2 separate regions of the Homo sapiens genome follow, and region 1 is linked to region 2. Evidence: promoter capture Hi-C in 16 types of primary human blood cells and fetal thymus (Javierre and others, 2016). All regions are on one chromosome and are shown on one strand. Each heading gives the region's core, a stretch centred on a gene start or on the middle of the fragment in contact. The rest is flanking DNA. Distances are from core to core; before and after follow the strand shown. Region 1 overlaps HSD11B1 (hydroxysteroid 11-beta dehydrogenase 1). Region 2 holds the start of UTP25 (UTP25 small subunit processome component).

Evidence for each region. Contacts are between HindIII fragments. The CHiCAGO score rates a contact against its expected background, and 5 or more counts as called.
Region 1: a fragment that was not itself captured here is called in contact with the fragment with the promoter of UTP25 in region 2 in 2 of 17 cell types (neutrophils and non-activated CD4 T cells); the score reaches 11.4 in neutrophils.

Annotation. Positions count from the first base shown.
Region 1 is chr1:209,733,856-209,738,333 of GRCh38, reverse strand. It overlaps HSD11B1 (hydroxysteroid 11-beta dehydrogenase 1), which reads right to left. Exons shown (of 6, transcript NM_005525.4): 6 at 3,405-4,030. The coding sequence ends at 3,813. The region is part of intron 1 of HSD11B1-AS1 (HSD11B1 antisense RNA 1); the gene reads left to right. Among named protein-coding and RNA genes, the nearest start is that of HSD11B1-AS1, 6.5 kb to the left of the region's middle. The HindIII fragment of the contact is 5,840 bases long and covers 294-4,478 here.
Region 2 is chr1:209,825,457-209,829,767 of GRCh38, reverse strand. It overlaps UTP25 (UTP25 small subunit processome component), which reads right to left and starts at 1,796. Exons shown (of 12, transcript NM_014388.7): 1 at 1,598-1,796. The coding sequence starts at 1,704. RefSeq lists an enhancer at 1,707-1,756. The HindIII fragment of the contact is 3,327 bases long and covers 1-2,877 here.

The DNA.
Region 1 (4,478 bases), core at 1,964-4,463, 93 kb after region 2:
TCCCTTGTTACCATGACACAGTGATTTCATAATATTGAATTTAATTCCTATAATTTAAACATTTCCCTATAGGTAGACATTAAGGTTGTTTTCAATTGTCTTGGCTACTACAAATGTAATATTTGGTGAAGGAATTTCTTTGTGGGAAGAGGCTATTTTTGTTAAAAAAGATGTTGCTGGATAGCCTCAAACTAGAGTCAGAATCAACTGTGCATAATAAATTTATGAGGGAGAAGAAGGAGGCTAGAGGCTGGATTCTCTGGGGGGTCAAAGTCAGATTAAGAGGGGAAGCTTAGAGGAAGCACTTTGAGGGCAACATGGCCAAGGGGGATCTTTTGAGTTAAATGATGCACACCGGGCTGGGCACGGTGGCTCATGCCTGTAATCTCAGCACTTTGGGAGGCTGAAATGGGAAGACTATTTGAGCTCAGGAGTTTGAGACCAACCTGGGCAACATAACAAGATCTCATCTCTACTAAAAATAATTTTTAAAAAATCAGCCCAGTCACGATGGCCCATGCCTGTAGTCCTAGCTCCTTGGGAGGCTAAGGCCAGAGGATTGCTTGAGCCCAGGAGTTCAAGGCTGCAGTGAAGCCATGATCATGCCACTGCACTCCAGCTTGGGTGACAGAGCAAGACCCTGTCTCAAAAAACAAACAAACAAACAAACAACAAAAAACAAAACAAACAAACAAAAAAAATGATGCACACTGAATGAATGTAAACTTAGTCTTCCTTCTCCCCTCTGAGATATGCTACCTTGCATATTGCAAACACTACCTTGCTTACTAATACTTTCAGTGAGAATATAATTACTTTTGGAACCTACAAAGAGAAGCTGAATTTTTGTGTTAATATGGGCGAGAAGTGAGTGATGCACATCTGGATTTCACGTAAGGATGTGAAAATGGACGTCCTTGGATGTATATTTTTGAGCTCGTGATAAAGTGAGCTAGGAAGGCTAGGTTCTTTTAAGTGGAACTAGTCCAAAGACAAGGGTCATTGTACTGCTGGTGCCACTGAAATTGGAACTTGGCTCCAGCTGCTGGAACCCCTGCCAGTCCTGAGAGATGAGACAGGTATTTAAGGGACAGGGGAGCCAGGTTAGGAACTGGATGAGGACCCCTGAGACGACCTCTTAGGAAGGACTTGTTGAATGTTGGCTCCCTAAAAAAGACCACCAAAACAACCTGTTGATAAGGCAAAGCTGGAGTCTTGATGGAGTCTTAGTAGACTCTGAGAGTGGAGAGGGTAAAGTCAGGGTCTTTATGGGGCTTTGAAGTCTAGGTTAAGGCGAGACTTCAGCATGGTGACTTTATTTGAATTGGATAAGGATTGTGATGCCATAGCTGGAGACTGGTGAACACAATGAAGCTGGGGTTTGGAACTAAGGGTTCCAAGCAGTCTTAAAGAGTAGCAGTCATTTGATGCTATCTGTTGAAAAATTCAGCACTTTTAAATGGGCTTGCAACATTTATCTTCTCGGACAAGAGTTTCTTGGAATAGTAAAGTCATGCTGATAAAGAGAATGGAATGTTAAAATCATGTTAATGAAGACAATAAGCTATGTGGGTGTAGATGGTTTCAGTTCTCAGACCTACTTTTTGAGATCTTCCCCTTTGGATTCTGAAGAAAGTCTCATTTAGAAAGAGGTTTAACCTCTCCCCAAGCAAATTCTAACTCAGCTTTAATATTATCTCTACCCTTGAGTAAAGGAATTACTTCACTTCATCTCACTGTGAAGAAGGAGTCTCATTTCTACAAGAGACTGAAGGGTGTTAATCTGATTGATCAGAAACCAGGACATATATTAAGCCACGTTGCAAGTGTGGGTGCATTTCATGTCAGAAACCAGACTACATTTTTTGGCCCTTTTTGTTTTGTCTTGTTTTTGCACATGGATGCAGCCAGGTCTCTCCTGCTCCCTTGCACTGAGCATAGCCTTGGAAGGACCTCTAAGAAAAGTGCAGCCACATTAGCAGGCTCAAATCCAGCCCTTTGTCCATGTGGCTGGCAGGCTCAATAGATTCCAATATGTTCTGCTGCCCAGCCATTTAGATTCAGAGGTGGGAAAAGAAAATTTCCCCTGCACTTTTAGGCACATGTCTCATGTCCCAGCATTACTTACCATGGAAGCTGTATGTTTGGGAGTGTTGGGGTTCCTGATGGATATACTCCATTCATTTCTCCAGAACACTCTCTACCCTTTTCCATCTGCTCTGTACATGGGGAAGCTGACCTGTATGGTCTATACCTATCTGCTCCCTTGCCCCTCTGTTCAGCTAATGTGAAATGCTGGCCAGAGATCAGAGGGAGGGAAGAGCGTGAGGTGAGGCTAGGGTGTTTTTTCCCCTAGACACCTCCTTCACAATCCTTGGTAGGCTAGCTGCATCTCTTTTTTTTTGAAATGGAGTCTCGCTCTGGCGCCAGGCTGGAGTGCAGTGGCACAGTCTCAGCTCACTGCAACCTCTGCCTCCCAGGTTCAAGCAATTATCCTGCCTCAGCTTCCCAAGTAGCTGGGACTACAGGTGTGCACCACCACACCTAGCTAATTTTTGCATTTTTAGTAGAGACGGGGTTCCCCCATGTTGGTCAGGATGGTCTGAATCTCTTGACCTCGTGATCCACCCACCTCAGCTTCCCAAAGTGCTAGGATTACAGGCGTGAGCCACAGCGCCTGGCTGGTTGGCTGCATCTCTTAACTAAATGTTACAGCTCCTGCCATGTGGTGCTCTCCATACAGGTCTTCACATCTTGAGGTTTTGGTAACAGGTCTCTTCTCTTGTCCCTGTGGGCCTTACGATGGAAACAGCTGCAACTAACCCTGAGATATCACTATCTTTTGTGATTTCCCTGTGCCTTGCCCCTTTTTTTATTAAATGCTACTAAAATTACCCAATTTGAGGGTGTCATCTCTTACTTCTTGGGCCCTGATCAATATAGGGCTTTGCTGAGTTGTTCATCATGCTGATGTTTTGTTTCCCATTTAATCATAGTTAGGTGATGCCTAATAAGTGCTTACTAAATATTTGTTGAATGAGTAAATGTCTAAATGAGTGAGTGGCAGGATTTGAACTCCAACTCCCCCTCTCCAAACTTCCAATGCAGAGTTTAGTGTTCACATGTAAAGTACAGATGCTTGATGTCCTCTGAGAGCAGTAAATGGGCATTGGGTCTGTGGCTCAAGTTTCTGGGACCTCCATTTTCCTGGGTTTGCCCTAGTTCCTTATGCCTAGGTGTCTTCTTTCCCAGAGGAGCAATATGCAATAATATGAAGAATATCAGAAATACACAGAAAAGGTAAAGACACAATATTCCCCACCAAACAAAGATTAGGGTGATTTCTTCCACTCAGGAAGAGATAAAGAGTTCAGACCACAAAATAAGAAACAAATATTGAAAAATTTCATTTGTACAGTTTATGGTTTTAAAGAAACCATCCTGAATAAGCTCAAGTTATAGCTACCAGTTATGAATTTATAAAGTTTATGTGACCTTTATTATAATTAATATTGTATTAATCATCACATATTATTATATATAAGATATAAATTTAATATAACTATCTGGTAATTATACCTATGTTTACTAACAATTTTACAACTGCTGGCTGCAGCGGTGCATGACATTCATTATTATTACATTTCCATTTTGCAAATGTTAGAGGAACTCCTTCCATTTGTCAGGTGTGACCCATGACTTGCATGTCTCTGGGGACACTCTGGGAAGATGTCTTCATAGATAAGAGCTCAGATAAACATGAGACAGAACAGTCCCAAAATCCCTCAGCATGCCCAGCCCTCAGGGAGTTCCTACTTGTTTATGAATCTGTCCATATTATAGCTCGTTGAGTAGAGAAATTCCAGGATCTTCCTGCATGGATTTCTGATCAGAAGAGTGGTCCAGAGTGAGCTGTCATAATACACTTCTTCTTGGCGCAGAGCTCCCCCTTTGATGATCTCCAGGGCACATTCCTCCTTTGGAGCTGCTTGCATATGGACTATCCCAGAAACTGCCTTCATGGCTGTTTCTATAGAATGACAAGGGAAGAGTAGGGTTATCTGACTAGGACAGTCTACATGATGGAAGGCCTGGAGACATCAACCACTTAGCTGTCAGGGGCTTTTGGCAGTGTTTGCTCTGCAAGCCTCACAGGCACTATAGGGAATACATGGAGAGACTGGGTATGTTAGAGTCTGTTGGGCAAAGAGAGGCCTTAGTGTTAATAGGGGCCTTGCCTTCCTGGATGGAGATTGGTGGGAGCAGTTAGAGGTGATTACTTGGGAGATCTGAATCATGCTTCTCTCTTGGGTATTTTGGTTGGAGGCGGAGAAGTAATATGGGGGAGCAGAATGAGGATAGAAGTCTCATAATGACTCAGTAGCTAATGGGAAGTGCCAGTGGGAAAAACCAGAGTGCTGTATGATAATGACTTACTGTCTTGTAAAAGGAAGAGATACACAAGAATACAGGCTTTT
Region 2 (4,311 bases), core at 547-3,046:
ATATCTGGAATCCCAGCACTTTAGGAGGCCAAGGTGGGAGAATCACTTGAGCCCAGGAGTTTGAGACCAACCTGGGTAACATACGGAGACCCTGTCTCTACAAAAAAATAAGAAAAATTAGCCCGGAGTTGTGTTGTGCACCTGTAGTCTCGGCTACTGGGAAGGCTGAGGCAGGAGGACCGCTTGAGCCCAGGAGGTGGTGGCTGCAGTGAGCCAGGATTGCAGCACTGGATTCCAACCTGGGCAACGAAGTGAGACCCTGCCTCAAAAAAAAGAAAAAAGAAAAGAAAAGAAAAAAAGAATGTCCCTAACTGATGACAAAGCAGCCCAAAGTAGTGGGATGAGCATTGAGATCATAACTGCACCTAGACATTTCTAGAGAAACCACAACTACTAATACACTTAGTTCCTTATCGTAATTGCAAAGATCAATGATGTCCCAACAAATTCTTTAAAAACACACACAACATATGATGTGACTATAACTAACAATTTATTGTATATTTTCAAATGGCTAGAAGAGCGGATTTTCAATGTTCCCAACGCAAAGAATTGATGTTTGAGATGATGAATATGCTAATTACCCGGATTTGATCATTACACATTGGGTACATGTATTGTTATCAAAATATCACACTGTATCCCACAAATATGTACAATCATTTTATGTAAGTTAAAAATAATTATAAAAACAGGCCAAGCGCGGTGGTTCACGCCTGTAATTCCAGCACTTTGGGAGGCCAAGGCGGGCAGATCACCCGAGGTCAGTAGTTCGAGACCACCCTAGCTAACATGGTGAAACCCCGTCTCAACTAAAAATACAAAAAATTGATCGGGTGTGATGGCGGGCGCCTGTAATCCCAGCTACACGGGAAGCTGAGGCAGGAGAATCGCTTAAGCCCGGGAGACGGAGGTTGCAGTGAGCTGAGATCGCGCCACTGCACTCCAGCCTGGGCGACAAAGCGAGACTCTGTCTTAAAAAAAAAAAATTATATATATACATATATATATGTGTGTCTACAAAAAATTCCTAGATCTCTGACCACACAAAAATCCGCCCCCATAGCTGGGCGCGGTGGCTCACGCCTGTAATCCCAGCACTTTGGGAGGCCGAGGTGGGTGGATCACCTGAGGTCAGGAGTTCAAGACCAGCCTGGCCAACATGGTGAAACCCCATCTCTACTAAAAATACAAAAAATCAGCCGGGCTTGGTGGCGGGCGCCTGTAATCCCAGCTACACGGGAGGCTGAGGCAGGAGCATCGCTTGAACCCGGGAGGAGACAGAGGTTGCAGTGAGCCAAGATCGCGCCATTGCACTCCAGCCTGGGCGACAGAGCGAAACACCGTCTTAAAAAAAAAAAAAAAATCCTCCCCCACACAACGGGCGTGCCTCTTAGCAGGAAATTACAGGCTCAACAAAAAGGCCCGTGAAGCACTCCATCTCCCGGCGGGATGGCGCCAGAATCTCCCCGGCCGAGCACAGCGGGAGCCAGGGAATAGTGGGAAAAGGCCGGAGCAGCACTATCTGGGAGACCAGAGGACCAAACTCGAGGATACATCTCTGGCGACTGGGGAGCCCTGCCACGCCCCTTCAGACCTGTCATAGAAGGGATGCTCCTCGCCGAAATCTCGAAGATGTTTCTTCTGCTTTTTAGTTAGGGTGTTGAGTAGCTGGCTCTGGCTCCGGCTCCCGCGTTTGCCCATAGCGAAAACGTCAAGTTTGCCCACTTGCAAGAGTCGCGGTTTTCCACCAGGAAGTTGTCCAGTCAACACAAGCACGTGGGCTCGCTGACTGCGCTTTACGGCGAAAGCAAGGTGCCATAAAGCAGATCCGCTTTACGTCGCGCTCGTACGACAGGCTTAGAACATCCGGTTCCCGGTTCTGCCCCCTACCGCAGCTCTTTGAAAGCACGGGAGTTCGTTCACTAGTGTTCTCAGAGCCCTAGAACGTGGGCAGCTGGGCTTCCCGGGTTGCGTGAGTCGGGGGCATGAGCTTTGTGCTTGTGTTTTGGTTATGGAAATCAGTCTGCGTAAATGTGTAGTAGCGGAGATAGTCGAATGCAGTGACTTTACAGTATACTGCAATAAAAATATCAACCAACATTTAAGGGTGCCTGAACATCTCACTTCATCACCACAACAGTGTACAGATAGGTCTTGTTAATAAGCCTGGTGTTGCAGATAAGGAAACTGATGCTTAGAAAAGATAACACGCTAGCGGCCGGGCGCGGTGGCTCACGCCTGTAATCTCAACACTTTGGGAGGCCGAGATGGGCGGATCACCTGAGGTCAGGAGTTCGAGACCAGCATGGCCAAACATGGTGAAACCCCGTCTCTACTAAAAGTACAAAAATCAGCCGGGCGTGGTAGCGGGCGCCTGTAATCCCAGCTACTCAGGAGGTGAGGCAGGAGAATCGCTGGAACCCGGGAGGTGGAGGTTGCAATGAGCCGAGATCACTCCACTGCACTCCAGCCTACTCCAGCCTGGGCGACAAAAGCTAGACTCCATCTCGAAAAAAAAAAAAAAGAAGAAAAGAAAAGAAAAGATAACACGCTAGCAAGAGAAGAGAGAAAAACCTTAACTGATGCAACCACATGCTTTTACCCATTAGGGTCTGCCGCCTGTGTGTGTTATATCAATCATGGGGCCCACAAGTCTGAGATTCCCACCCTCACCCTATTCTCGCATTTTCTGAAAGTATTGGAAGAGTCCCCGCAAACAAATCTGTTCCAGCATTCCCCATTTAACAACAGCAGAAACACATCTAGAGAGGTAAAGTGACTTTACTGAAATCACCCCAGTCAATGCTAGAAAAGGCTGTGAAACCCAATCCAGTGTCTCATAACTGAACTCGGACAAAAGGGGATGGAAAAGCTTTTGAAGGTAAAGGAACCATCTTACATTTTGATCATGCTAGTAGTTACACCTTGTATACATAAGAAAAGTTAAACTGTACAGTTAAAATGGGTGAATTTTAATGTATTTAAATAACACCTAAATAAACAGGAAAAAGCAAAAATATAAAAGTAGACTCAGTATTCTAGGGATTTGCAAGTGTGCAGGGCTGCTTGAGACCACAGGATAAAGATGGTGAGATCCTTTTCCTAATAGTAACTTATGCTACCATGTTCTATAGAAACAGAGTGCTTAAATCATAAGCCGCAGAATTCACTTGAATATTTACGGTAAAACAGGAGCGTCCAAAATGAGAGAAATGAGAAGCAAAATAATAGCTCTGCTATTGGAGTGCTACTGTGGGAAATTTGGGTTTTCCCTGATACTGTGTCACACCATAGAAGTTGTAATAAAACCATTAGAATGCGATTCTTGTCAGTTCTAGTGACCATCTACTATTCCTAATTAGATTCGGAGAGGCTGGGGTGGGGATGGGAGGACAGGGCCGGAGAATATGAGGAACACATGCAAACAGAGCGGGTGGTGCCCAGCAGCTGGGCCAGCCAAGGAACCCATAAATAGCCATTTGTCTTCTATGTAATTTCAAGATAAAAGGTACAGTCACTTAGGTCAACAAAAGCCTGTTTGCAAGATGTCATCATATATTTTAAGGTGCTGACCACAGTATAACTTGGCTATAGCAATAAAGAGCCATCCTTTTTCCCCCTCCCAACATATCCCAAGTGCCCCAGTTTCCCTCCCCAGAGGCAGCCACTTTCTTGGTGTTCTTCCAGAGATCTTCTATGAAAGCTATATTCTCAAGCACTTGAGGTGACTCTTACTCTCCCGGTTTCCACACCCTTGTGGTCTTGTGTACAGGTCTAGACGGTTCTCAGGTTCAGGTAAAAATTTACCCTAGCCCCACCCAAGCAGTCTCATCATTGGCTCACTGGGTCATGGAAAAAGAAGCCCTTTTTGTCCTAAAAATATTTATATTATCCTTTGACAACATAAAAAGGGATCCTTTGTGAAAATTTAACCTAAGAGCCAAGAATGTAAGCATTTCTCCCCGCCCCGCCCCCCCGTGAAAGTTCTCTTAGTAAAACCTGCACAACGATGATGTATATGCCAACAAATGAAGGCCTTAGGAAAACTGTAATGAAGACAAAATTTGTTCTTCTTTTTCCCTCCCTCTGCCCTTCCGTTTCCCTCCCCCAACGTTTTCTTTTACTTCTACTCACAGGAACTCCATATTTTCAGTGTTAAAGGCAGTCCAGGAAATAACCCTCTGTATTAGTTTACAGATAGCTGTTAATGAATTAACAAGTTACTTTCCTTGGGATATTTGCAATTTCCAGAAGATTCTCTAGGATAATGATCTCAAGGAGTGGGAGAAGGATAGCTATCCCTTAGGA